Linked DNA regions of Homo sapiens: all the other regions are linked to region 1. Evidence: promoter capture Hi-C in 16 types of primary human blood cells and fetal thymus (Javierre and others, 2016). All regions are on one chromosome and are shown on one strand. Each heading gives the region's core, a stretch centred on a gene start or on the middle of the fragment in contact. The rest is flanking DNA. Distances are from core to core; before and after follow the strand shown. Region 1 holds the start of NDUFC2 (NADH:ubiquinone oxidoreductase subunit C2). Region 2 has its middle 40 kb from the start of NARS2. Region 3 has its middle 17 kb from the start of NARS2.

The links. The method cuts DNA at HindIII sites, captures the fragments that hold promoters and counts their contacts. A CHiCAGO score of 5 or more calls a contact.
Region 2: a fragment that was not itself captured here is called in contact with the fragment with the promoter of NDUFC2 in region 1 in 1 of 17 cell types (neutrophils); the score reaches 5.1 in neutrophils.
Region 3: a fragment that was not itself captured here is called in contact with the fragment with the promoter of NDUFC2 in region 1 in 1 of 17 cell types (neutrophils); the score reaches 9.4 in neutrophils.

The regions. Positions count from the first base shown.
Region 1 is chr11:78,077,600-78,081,972 of GRCh38, forward strand. It overlaps NDUFC2 (NADH:ubiquinone oxidoreductase subunit C2), which reads right to left and starts at 2,263. Exons shown (of 3, transcript NM_004549.6): 1 at 1,980-2,263. The coding sequence starts at 2,145. It overlaps NDUFC2-KCTD14 (NDUFC2-KCTD14 readthrough), which reads right to left and starts at 2,263. Exons shown (of 3, transcript NM_001203262.2): 1 at 1,980-2,263. The coding sequence starts at 2,145. It overlaps LOC105369401 (a long non-coding RNA gene), which reads left to right and starts at 3,596. Exons shown (of 3, transcript XR_950342.2): 1 at 3,596-3,842. RefSeq lists an enhancer at 1,983-2,042 and a silencer at 2,246-2,435. The HindIII fragment of the contact is 4,740 bases long and covers 673-4,373 here.
Region 2 is chr11:78,612,845-78,617,217 of GRCh38, forward strand. No RefSeq gene overlaps it. Among named protein-coding and RNA genes, the nearest start is that of NARS2, 40 kb to the left of the region's middle. The HindIII fragment of the contact is 1,904 bases long and covers 1,624-3,527 here.
Region 3 is chr11:78,590,141-78,594,513 of GRCh38, forward strand. No RefSeq gene overlaps it. Among named protein-coding and RNA genes, the nearest start is that of NARS2, 17 kb to the left of the region's middle. The HindIII fragment of the contact is 7,888 bases long and covers 1-4,373 here.

The DNA of each region.
Region 1 (4,373 bases), core at 1,013-3,512:
GGCTGGAGTGCAGTGGTGCAATCGTGGCTCGCTGCAGCCTCAACCTCCTGGGCTCAAGTGATTCTCCTCCCTTAGCTTCCTGAGTACCTGGGACTACAAGTGCACATCACCATGCCTGGCTAATTTTTTAAATTTTTTTGTAGAGACAGGGTCTCACTATGTTGCCCAGGCTGGTCTTGAACTCCTGGCCTCAAGAGATGTTCCTGCCTTGGTCTCCCAAAGTGCTGGGATTACAGGTGTGAACCACAGTGCCTGTGCCTAGTGAGCAAGTTTGTTTAGTTCCAAAGTGGAGCTCTTTTCATTACACCAAGTGACAGTCTTGGGCAAATATGAAGTGGTGATGAAAAGGGAAAACCTCGAGTCCTCAGAGGCATAAACGGACAAAGATGACTCCTTTCTGAAGTGAGGAGTTATGTCCAAGGGAGATAGGACTTCAATACTATTTGAGCACTGGAAATGTGGGATTTGATGGGTTGGGAGCTGACCTTCAGGCATGACATACAGCTGTAAGAAGGCAAAAGAGGTACAAGTGTGGTGACTCCTAATTGCCTGAACCATTGCCTGAGCTTTTTTCCTGATTGTGCTTCTTGGCTCCAATCAACGCCTCACATTGCTGACAAAGATGACTTTTTAAAATACAGAGCTCATCACTGCACCCTTGCAGCTCTCAAAAGCTTACAAAGTTCCTGACTGCCTAGAAAATAAATTGCCATGCTCTGCTAAAATCTCCCTTGCAGTTTTATCTAAACCTGAACACTCACTCAATCATCAAACACCCTCCATTCAGAGGTCCTTGCCCCCATTAGCTCCCACTAGCCCCACGGGCCTAGAAAGCTGTCTGTCTCTCAGTCCTGCCTGATAATCAAAGTTAACTTCAAAGACCCCTCTTCCAAAGTTCCTCTCCTCTTTTCCCTCTGGAAATCCATAGAGCTTAGCAAAGCTACTGTGGTGGTTATTATCAGAATAGTCAGTGTCTCTGATAGGAAGCCAGTGACATACTACTGGGAAGTACAGCACACTGGTTTAGAGCCTCCTATTCAAACCGTGGTCCTCAGACCAGCAGCAGCAGTGTTTGAGCGCTTGTTGTTAACATCAAGTTCCTCCCCAGACCTCATGAATCAGGATCCGCTTTTTTTTTTTTTTTGAGACAGGGTCTCACTTTGTTGCACAGGTTGGAGTGCAATGGTGCAATCTCGGCTTACTGCAACCTCTGCCTTCCAGGCTCAAACGACCCTCCTGCCTCAGCCTCCCTCAGCCTGGGACCACAGGCGTGCACCACCACGCCCGGCTAACTTTTGTATTTTTTTGTAGGGACGGGTTTTCGCCCTATTGCCCATACTGGTATCGAATTCCTGAGCTCAGGCGATCCGCCCGCCACGGCCTCCCAAGGCGCTGGGATTACAGGTGTGAGCCACCTCGCGCAGCCCAGAATCCGAATTTTAACAAGACACCTATGCTATTCGTATGCACATTAAGTTTGAGAAGCACTGGTGTCCAATATCCATTCAGAGGTCAAAAAAAAAAAAAACCAAGCTCTGCTACTTAATAGCCATATGACCTTGGGCAAGCTGCTGTTAATCTGTTAGGCTCGGTTTCCTCGTTGTGAATAATACATCCCTAAAAGTGTTTTAAGGCCGAAATGCTATCAATAATGCCCACAGTGTGAGTAGTGCATGGCATGGAGTCATGGCTCATTTGCGCACACAGCACAACACGAACTGAGGAGAGTAGTTTCGGGTCCTTCACAGACTCAGTTCCTGCTTCACTGCACCTCAGTTTCTTCAAGTGCCAAATGACACTCTGGCTCTGCTTGATTCTAAAGAGCTAATGGGGCGCGGACTCCCCGGAAAGGCGAGATGGGGCCAGCTAGGCAAAAAGGCACGGAAAAGCAGAGCACCTCAGGGGGGCCTACGGCCGGGCCAGTCTGCAGCCCTACGACCCCTTCTCCTCCCAGCCGATCCCGGCCGCGCAGCACTCACCAGCCGTCGCGATCGGCCTCCGCCGGATTAGGTTATCAATCAGGCCGGAGCAGTAGCCCAAGAAGCCGATGTAGAGGAGCCGCGGGTCGGTCAGCTTGGGCGGGGGCAGGCTCCGGGCCTCATCCGGCAGAAACCGTAAGGGTTCTGGGTTCCGCCGTGCGATCATGGTGACGCCGTTTCCACTTGAGGCCTGGTCTCAGACCACGAACTACAAGGAAAACCACGACGACCACTACCCCGGCCTAAGCGGTCAGCTTTCTCCTCCTCCTCTGCGCGCCGGACTCACGGGCACGGCGCAGCGCGGTGCAGCGCCCAAACGCTTCCCGGTACGTGTTGCTGCGGGAACCCGGCACGCGAAGTTCCGGGCTACTAAGTTTCACTTTGCTCGTCCGCCCGCGCTAATTCTCTGGTGGGAGTGGGATTCACGGGCCTGGTAACGCGGGGTCGAGGAGTACCCCAAACGAGCCAAACTGGGCGAAGACTAGGAGATACTGATTTTCTTTTCTCCCAACTTCCCCAACCAGAATTGCCTCTCCCTCCCCTGCCCCTTCTGGAAAGATTTATCTTTTCATCCAATACCCACAAATGGGCATGATGCGTAGTTTTGATAAACGTAATTAATTGAAATTCCATAAAAGCTAGTTTTCGTTTTCTGAGTTTTCAGTCGTTCATTCGCATAGACACTCCCTCCAAAGCCTAAAATTAAGGTCTGGCCAGCAACAAAAGAATTTAGAGAAGCCCAGGACTGGATCGTTTTAGTCTATTGTTGAAATTCAGATTCGGAGGCAGCACCCTAAAATGTTTCACCTCTGGGTCTTCACGTCGTTACACATGGCTGAGTGAGGAGGTGTTCCCTAAAGGTTTGAGTAATGAGGCCAGGCGCCGTCACTCACGCCTGTAATCCCATCACTTTGGGAGGCTGAAGTGAGCGGATCACTTCAGGAGTTCAAGACCAGCTTGGCCAACATGGTGAAATCCCATCTCTACGAAAAATACAAAAAATTAGCTGGGCGTGGTGGCGGGTGCCTGTAGTCCCAGCTACTGGGAAGGCTGAGGCAGCATAATCGGCTGCTCGGGAAGCTGAGGGGGGAGAATCGCTTGAACCTGGGAGGTGGAGGTTGCAGTGAGCCGAGATCGCACCATTGCATTCCAGCCTGGTCAACAAGAGCGAAACTTCGTCTCAAAAAGAAAAAAAAAAAGGTTTGAGTAATGAAAGAAGGAATTTATAATTCTGTTAAGCAATTTTCCAGTCTCTGCTGTCAGGCCTCTCAGCCGAAGCTCAACCATTGTAACCCCTGTGACTTGCACATATGCGTCCAGATGGCCTGCGGGAGCCAAGAAGTCTGGGGCAGCCAAAAACCCACAAAAGAAGTAAAACAGCCACTTCCTGCCTTAACTGATTAACAAACATTCCACCATTGTGACTGGTCCCTGCCCTACCTTAACTGATCAACCATCCTTGTGACATTCTTCTTCTGGACAATAAGTCTTATGATCTCCCCATCATGTACCTTGTGACCCCCTCCCCTGCTAACAATAGATAACAACCACCTTTTACTGTAATTTTCCATTACCTACCTAAATCCTATAAAGCAACCCCTTCCCCATCTCCCTTCATTGATTCTCTTTTCGGACTCAGCCCACTTGCACCCAAGTGAATAAACAGCCTTGTTGCTCACACAAAGCCTGTTGGTGGTCTCTTCACACGGATGCATTTGACATTTGGTGCTATGACTTGGATCGGGGGACCTTCCTTGGGAGATCAATCCCCTGTCCTCCCGCTCTTTGCTCCGTGAGGAAGATCTACCTACGACCTCGGGTCCTCAGACCAGCCCAAGGAACATCTCACCAATTTTAAATCGGGTAAGTGGCCTCTTTCTACTCTCTTCTTCAACCTCTTTCACTATCCCTCAACCTCTTTCTCCTTTCAATTTCGGCACCACCCTTCAGTCTCTCCCTTCCCTTAATTTCGGTTCCTTTCCCTGTCTGGTAGAGACAGAGGAGACCCGTTTTATCTGTGGACCCAAAACTCTGGCGCTGGTCATGGACTCGGGAAGACTGTCTTCCCTTGTGTTTAGTCACTGCAGGGACGCCTGCCTGATTATTCACCCACATTTCAGAGGTGTTCGATCACTGCGGGGACACCTGTTTTGATCTTCCACCTTGGTGGCAAGTACCACTTCCCCTGGGTGGCAAGTACCACCCCCCCTCTCTCCATGTCTCAACCTCCTCCTTTCTCTAAACTTACCTTTTTACTATGGGCAACCTTCAGCCCTCCATTCCTTCTTCTTCCTCTCTTAGCCTGTGTTCTTAAAAACTTAAAACCTCTTCAACTCTCACCTGACCTAAAACCTAAGTGTCTTATTTTCTTCTGCAACACCACTTGGCCCCAAT
Region 2 (4,373 bases), core at 1,326-3,825, 540 kb after region 1:
AAAAGGTAGTTATATATACCAGCTATGACCACATGACTAGTTACAGAAATGAAGACCTTAGTTGTCACGAGTATTTCTTCCTTATTTTGGTATGGAGGAAGTGTGTGTGTAGGCAAATATCTTTTTTTCTTCCCTATATCATCCCCTTATCATGTAACTAAGATGCATGACTTTATATCATAGTCTTTAAGTATTGTTAACTTTACGTAACAGTATTTAAGTTTTGAGATAGCAAGAAGATTAAACATCACTCAAGGAAAGGGGGTTAGTGTGTTTTGGTTATACACAGTATCATGTTAGGTGGAATTATGTTCTTGCTATTGACTTCGTTTGGAGATTAAGTATGCATAGGAGTGCCAAGTTGGCAAGGGTTGGACTTGTGATGGTTAATTTTGTGTGTCAACCTGACTGACCCTCAGGGTACCTAGATATTTAGTCAAACATTATTCTGAGTGTTCCCGTAATGGTGTTTTTGAATGAGATTAACATTTAATTTACCTTGGTAGATTGAGTAAGCAGATTGCCCTTCCTGACATGGGTGGGCCTCATCCAATCAATTGAAGTCCTAAGTAGAACCAAATGGCTGACATTCCTCATGTAAGAGAGAATTCCTCCTGCTGGCCTGTCTGCCTTTGAACTGGGACGTGGACTTTTCCCTGCCTTCACATTCAAACTCAAAGATAGGCATTTCCTGGTTCCCAAACCTGCCAGTCTTTGGACTGGAACTACGTCATCAGTTCTGGGTCTCAGTCCTTTGGACTCAAACCAGAACAACATAATTGGCTCTCTTGAGTCTCTAACTTCCCGACTCACCCTGCAGGTCTTGGAAATTAAGACCAGCCTGGGCAACAAAGCAAGATCTCGTCATTACAGATAATAATAACAAAGTTAGCCCGGCATGGTGGCATGCACCTGTAGTCCCAGCTACTTGGGAAGCTGAGGTGTGAGTATTGCTTGAGCCCAGGAGGCCGAGGCTGCAGTGAACTATGATTGTGCCACTGTACTTAAACCTGGGTGACCAAGTGAAACAGTGAGACCCTGTCTCAATTTTTTTTCTTTTTGTCTTTGATTTTCTGCAGTTTCAATATAATATGCCTGTGTGTAAATGTCTTGATATATATCCTGCTTGGTGTTTTCTGGGCTTCTTGGATCTGTGGTATGGTGTCTATCATTATTCTGGAAAATTCTTAGTCATTTGGAGTAATTATTTTGTTCCTTTCTTCTCCTTCTGATATTCCCTTTACATGTATGTTATACCATTTGTCATTGCCCCACATTTCTTGGCTATTACATTCTATTCCTCCCCCCCTCCACTTGCTTCCAATTTGCTTTTCATTTTGGGGTTTTTATTGACATATCTTTAAGTTCATTGATTATTTCCTCATCTGTGTCCAGTCTACTGGTGAAGCCATCAAAGGCATTCTTCATTTCTGTTATATATTTTTTTGATTTTAAAGATTCCTTTTGAATTATTTTTAGAGTTCCCATTTCTCTGCTTACATAACCATCTGTTTTACATGTTGGTAACATTTTCATTAGCGCTCTTAGCATATTAATTATAGTTCTTTCAAGTTTCTTGTCTGATAGTTCCAAATTTTGTGTCATACCTGAGTCTGGTTCTGAAGCTTGTTCTAGCTCTTAGACTATGTTTCTGCTTTCTAGCATGCCTTGCCATTTTTGTTCAAAGCTGGACATGATGTATTGACTAAAAGAAACTGAGTTAAATAGGCTTGTATCGTGAGGTTTTGTGTTTATCTGGCTAAAAGCTAGGTTAGGTTTACTATTTGCCATAGCTGTAGGTGTCAGAGGCTAAAACTTGCTCTAATGTCCTTGTTTCTGTCTCCCTGTTGTCTTTGGATTTTTTTCCTTCTTTTCTTTTTTTTTTCTTTGAGACAGAGTCTTACTCTGTTGCTCAGGCTGGAGTGCACTGGCGCAATGCAACTTCCGCCTCCTGGGTTCAAGCAATTCTCCTGACTCAGCCTCCCAAGTAGTTGGGGTTACAGTCATGCGCCACCACGCCCAGATAATTTTTGTATTTTTAGTAGAGATAGGGTTTTGCCATGTTGGCCAGGCTAGTCTCGAACTCCTGACCTCAGGTGATCCACCTGCCTCAGCCTCCCAAAGTGCTGGGATTATAGGCATGAGCCACCGTACCCAGCCTGTCTTTGGATTTCTTTAGAGACTCCTTCCAAAGCCAGCCTGAGCCTTGAAGTTATTTCAGTTGTAATCCCCTGTTATTATGTAGGAGCCTGACTGATGTGGTGGTAAGGAGAGGTATATTAGGATTCTCTAGAGGGTCAGCATTAATAGAATAGATATATGTATGAAGGGGAGTTTATTAAGGAGTATTGACTCACACGATCACAAGGTGAGTCCCGTAATAGGCGGTCTGCAAGTTGAGGAGCAAGGAAGCTAGTCCAAGTCCCAAAACCTCAAAAGTAGGGAAGCCAACAGTGCAACCTTCAGTTGTGGCTGAAGGCCCGAGATCCCCTGGCAAACCACTGGTATAAGTCCAAGAGTCCAAAAGCTGAAGAACTTGGAGTCCGATGTTCAGGGACAGGAAGTATCCAGCACAGGAGAAAGAGGAAGGCCGGAAGATTCAGTAAAGTCAAGTCCTTCCATATTCTTCTTCTACCTGCTTTTATCCTAGCCATGCTGGCAGCTGATTAGATGGTGCCTATCCAGATTGAGGGTGGATCTGCTTCTCCCAGTCCACCCACTCAAATGTTAATCTCCTTTGGCAATACTCTCACAGACACACCCAGGAACAATACTTTGTATCTTTCAATCCAATGAAGTTGACACTCAATATTAACCATCACAACAGAGGAAGCATTCTATAATTCTAATGTTATGTCTTATTCTGCTAGTCTTTTATTGAGCCTATGTCCTAGGGCTATAACCTTCCCAAGTGCTTCTCAGCTCTTTTTCCTCCCTTAGGTAGGGCAAGAAGGCTAGAAGGTTTTGGAATTGGGTATTTTTCATTCTCTGGGTAGGTAAGGCTCTGGAAAATAATTTCCCTGAGGGAAGGCTTTTGTTAAGAAGAACAGAATGCTGTAGGTGTATTTCACAATCATTGCTTTTTCCTCCCCCTGGTGGAAGCGTGAAAGGATTTTTCTCTGAGAACCTGGTGGGGTTCCTAAGGACAAACTCATAAAAGTGTGGGGATCTCCCTAAAATTGAGCCCCCAGAGTTTTAACTCTCAAACTAGTACACAGGGAGCCTCCAGTGATTTGCCAATTACAGTTTGCTTAAGCATTCCTACCACATTAACAACTTCAGTGAGATAATTTTCATGTGACTCAAAATTGAGAAGAAACGAAAGAAAATATTGATAATTTGTATATTAAAAATTCCTTTGCACAGCAAAACTCATTGCAAACAAAGTTAAAAGACAAATGACAACTAGGAAAATATTTGCTACTCAAACGACAAATAAAGGCCTAAATATTTTAAAAATTGAGAAAAAAGGACAATTATTTAGAAAAGTGGACAAAAGATAGAAACATACATTTTACAGAAACAAAAGCTTTTCCATATGTGAAAACTTGCTTAACCTCAGTCATGAGATATACAAATTAAAACTTGCTTATGTTGTTGATTTATCAGTTTTCATTTATCAGATTGGTAAACATCCAGAATTTTGACAACATAGTCTATTGGGAAGGCTGTATGGGAATTAGGCACTCTGGCACTCTAACACATTTCTGGGAGAATTGTGAATGACACAACTTTGGAATGGAATTTGGCAACATACTAGCAAAATTCATTTACTTTTTTATTGTTGTTTAGAGACAGGGTCACCAAGGCCCCCAGGCTGGTCCTGAACCTCTGGCCCCAAGTGATCCTCCCACCTTGACCCCACAAAGTGCTAAGACCACAGACATGAGCCACCAAGCTTGGCCTCATTTACCTTTTGACTCAGCAATCTTACTTCCAGAAGTATGGAAGTGTGATTCCAGAAGTGTGATTCCAAAGATATTATCAACAAAAATAAAATACAACTTATGCATTTCATTGTGATTTAATTTATAATAACAAATGATTGGGGATATCTCAAATGTTTGTTAATAGGGGACTAGTTGAAGAAATGATGGTACAACCACACAATGAAGTACTAGGAAGCCGTGAAAACTGATGAAAAGATCACTGTGTATTGATATAGAGTGATTTCTAGAATATATTGTTAGGTGGGGGAAAAATTAAGGTACAAAACAAGGTTTAGTATGCCAATTTTTGCAAAATAAAATAAAATAGAATAAAATAAAATAGCAAACCAAAATCTATTAAGGTGTTCCATGTGAAGAGAGAGAGAACAGCATGTAGAAGATAGGCATAGTAGTGAGATTTCTGTAAATTTAGGTTATATAGTT
Region 3 (4,373 bases), core at 862-3,361, 510 kb after region 1:
ACCATACATCTGATATGGGGCTAATAGCCATAATATATAAGGAACTCAAACAATTCAATTGCGAAAAAACAACCAGATTTTAAAATGGGCAAAGTACCTCAATAGAGACGTCTCTAAAGAAGACACAAAATAGTCAATATATATATGAAAAAATGTTCAACATTCCTAATCATCAGGGACATGCAAATTAATTAAATATCACCTCACACCTGTTAGAAGAACTACTATCAGAAAGATGAAAGACAAGTTTGGAGAGGATACAGAGAAAAGGAACTCTTATACATTGCTGGTGGGAATGTAAATTAATACAGTCATTATGGAAAACCAGTATGAAGATTCCTCTTCAAAAAATTAAAAATAGAACTATTATCATATGCTTCAACAATTCTACTTCTGAGTATATATCCAAAGAAAATGAAAACAGTATATGAAAGACATATCTGCACTCCTATGTTCAATGAAGCGTTATTTACAATAGCCAAGACACGGAATCAATCTAAATGTTCATTAACAGATTAATGGATAAAGAAAATGTACATGCACACAATGGAATACTATTCAGCTCTTTAAAAGAAGGAAATCCTGTCATTTGTGACAACATGAATGAACCTGGAAAACATTATGCTACGTGAAATAAGCAAGGCGTAGAAAGACAAATATTGCATGGTCTTATGACTCTAAAAACAGTCAATCTGAGATGCAGAGAGTAGAATGGTGATTACCAGGGTCTGGTTATGAGGAATGGGGAGATGCTGATAAAAAGGTACAAAGTTTTAGTTAGACACAAGTAAGTTCGGGTGATCTATTGTAAAAATGGTGACTACAGCTAATAATAATGTACTGTGTACTTGAAAATGGCTAAGAGAGGCTGGGCGTGGTGGCTCACGCCTGTAATCCCAGCACTTTGTGAGGCCAAGGCCGGTGAATCACTTGAGGTCAGGAGTTCTAGACCAGCCTGGCCAAGATGGTGATACCCCATCTCTACTAAAAATACAAAAATTAGCTGGGCATGGTGGCACGTGCCTGTGATTCCAGCTACTTGCAAGGCTGAGGTGGGAGAATCGCTTGAACCCAGGAGACGGAGGTTACAGTGAGCCAAGATCATGCCACTGCACTCCAGCCTGGGCGACAGAGCGAGACTCCATCTCAAAAAAAAGAGAGGAGACATTATGGATTAAAGGAAAAATAAAACACATAGCAATCAAATGTAATGCATGAATGCTTACTTGGATTATGACTTAAGTCAACAGAGAAAAGATATATTTTTTAAAGACATAAAAATAGTTCAACAGCACAGAGTATTATTTTTTGAGTTTCTCTAAGATTGATATTATTTCCTTTTTAAGTGTTTGAATATAATTCATTGTGTAGTCATGTGGGCCTAGAGCTTCCTTCATGAGAAAGTTAAATTAAATTAAATTAATTAATTATTTTAGAGACAAGGTCTTGCTATGTTCCCCATGCTGGTCTTGAACTTCTGGGCTCAAGCAATCCCCTCTCCTCAGTCTTCCAGAGTTCTGAGATTATAGGCATGGGCCACTGCACTCGGCCTATGAGACGGTTTTGAATTACAGATTTAACATGTTTAATAAATATGATGTTGTGCAGATTTTGTATTTCTTTTTCCGTCAGTTTTTGTAAGTTGTATGTTTTGAGAAATTTATCTAAGCAGCTAAATTTCTTGGCATAAAATTGTTCATATTATTCTTTCAGTGTCTGTAGGATCTGTAATGACGTCCTTTAATTCCTAATATTAGTTGATATTGAGGAATTATGCACAAAATTCTTCGCTGTTAAAGATACAATCCTAAAGAATTTATGGGTGAAATGTGATATCTAGAATTTGGTTTTAGATATTTCAGAAAAAAAATAAAACAGTATAGATGGAATAGATGAAATAGGACTGGTAAAATGTTGAAAAATATTGAAGTTGGGTAACATACACAGGAATTCATTGTACTATTCATGTTGGAGATTTTTCTATAATAAAAATGGTATGTAAAAAAGAATGGGAGAAGAGAAATTGGAGACAGGGTTTTCAAGAAGTTTTGTTGTAAGGGGAGCAGAAAAACTGAGGTGGTAACTGGTGGAAGAATGTGGTCATGAAAGCGGACTTCTTTAATATGTGAGAAATAATAGCATGTTTGTCTGGTGATAAGAAAGATCTGATTTTTCCATTAGAGCCCTTAGCATATTAATCACCATTGTTTTAAATTCCTGGTCTAATAATTCTAACATCTCTGCCATATCTGAGTCTGATTCTAATGCTTGCTCTGTCTCTTCAAACTGTGTTTTTTTTTTTGTCTTTTAGTTTATCTTGTAATTTTATTTTTTTTAATCTTTATCTTTAATTTTTTTGTTGAAAGTTGGACACAATGTAGTGGATAAAAGGAACTGAGGTAAATACATCTTTATTTTCATTTATTTATTTATTTATTTTGAGATGGAGTCTCGGTCTGTTACCCAGGCCGAAGCGCAGAGGCGTGATCTCGGCACACTGCAACCTCCGCCTCCTGGGTTCAGGTGATTCTCCAGCCTCAGTCTCCCAAGTAGCTGGAACTACAGGCACGAGCCATCACACCTGGGCTAATTTTTGTATTTTTAGTAGAGATGGGATTTCACCATGTTGGCCAGGCTGGTCTCAAACTCCTGACCTCAAGTGATCCACCCTCCTTGGCCTCCCAAAGTGCTAGGATTACAGGTGTGAGCCACCACACCCGGCCTGTAAATAAGTCTTCAGTGGGAAGTTGTATATTTATCTTATTTATCTAGTTAGAAGTTAGGCTGTGTTTACTGTTTGTTGTAGCTGTGGGAGTCAGAGGCAAAAATTTCCTCCGGTGTCCTTGTTTTTGTCTCACCTGTTATCTTTGGATTTCCCTAGAGACTTCTTGGGAGGTCTCAGAAATAACATGCAGTTATTTCTGTTGTACTCCCTTATTATCATACAGATAAGTCCTGTTGATATAGTGGTGAGGTGTGGAGAGAGAGGAAGAATTCTATAGACCTGTGATTAGGTCTTAGACTTTAGCGAGCCTGTGCTCCTGGGCTGCACCTTTCACAAGCGCTTCTCAGTTCTTTCCCGCTTTAGTTGGCAAAAAGGGGCTGGAGTTGGGTATTTTCCTTCTCCTGTGATTAGTCTCTGGTAAAATCCAGTCAGCTAGCCTCTGATAACATAGTTTCCATTGAGAGCAGGCTTTGTTAAGAAGAGCTGGACACTTTGGCATATTTCGAATGGCTATTTTTCCCCTCCTCTTGCCAGAAGCATGAGGATTTTTTTTTTGTTTTTTTTTTTTTTGCTGATCTTCACCCTGAGAACCTGGTAGGGTTCTTGGAGGTAAAACTCACGAAAGTGGAGGTAAAATCCAGTATGACTGGCCACATGCCCTGGAGTTTTTAACTTTCAAACTTGTCCACACAGAGCCTCCAGCAATTCATCTATTATAGTTTGGGTTTTTCGTTCCCCAGTACTCGTTCTTGCAGAGTTTTCTGCCCCTGGGCTTCTATTCCAGTAAGTTGTGATTCTCTGTATTTACCCATTTGTCTCTCCAGTTTGGGGGACAGAAGTGTGCCCTGTTACTTCAACTGATTTTCAGTTTATTTAGCTTTTTTATTGTTGTGAAGACAGGAGTGATGACTTCCAAGCTCCTTACTTGCTAGACCAGAAACCGGAAGGGAAAGATCTAGAAGAGAGGAAAACTTGACACAGGAAAGACAGAAGAAAATTCCTAGTGTTGATGAGTTTGAATTGGTGAAAGGGGGTGTGATCTAGTGTTCAAGTGGAGGACTAGCCTTAGCTGATAACATCATGAGCACTTTATATTAGCACAGAGAAGGTAGAGGACATGGGCGCACATGAAGATTGATGGGTATGTGGGGGTATATATGATAGTGGGAACTTGTAGAGACATCCTCTTTAATTTGCTTCTATTTCACAATGAAATAGGAAGGAAGGTTTTCTGTAGAGAAAGACGGATGGACAGACACACACACGAGAGAGAGAGAGAATGGCAAAGTAGATGTTAGAGTTTTGAAAAGAGGAAAAAGATTATGAAAGAATTATTTGGATCATTTAGGAGAGTGGGAGAGTTAATGGACTAGAGAAAGATTGCCAGGCAGAATTGGGGCCCATCTGAGGCTTATGGGTCACAGTTTTGAAGTGATGCCCCTGGACTCAGAAAACAATATTTTAAATTCATTAGAGTAAAATGTACTAGTATTATCCAATATCCATTTTCCTCCTTTTAATAACAGAAGCCCAGAATTGTAGCTGGGTACATGTCCCTCCCCCACCCCCCACAAAGACATTTCTCAGCTTCCGTTGCAGGTAGGTGTGGTCATGTAACAGTCAACTGTGTTCTGGTAAATAGAATATA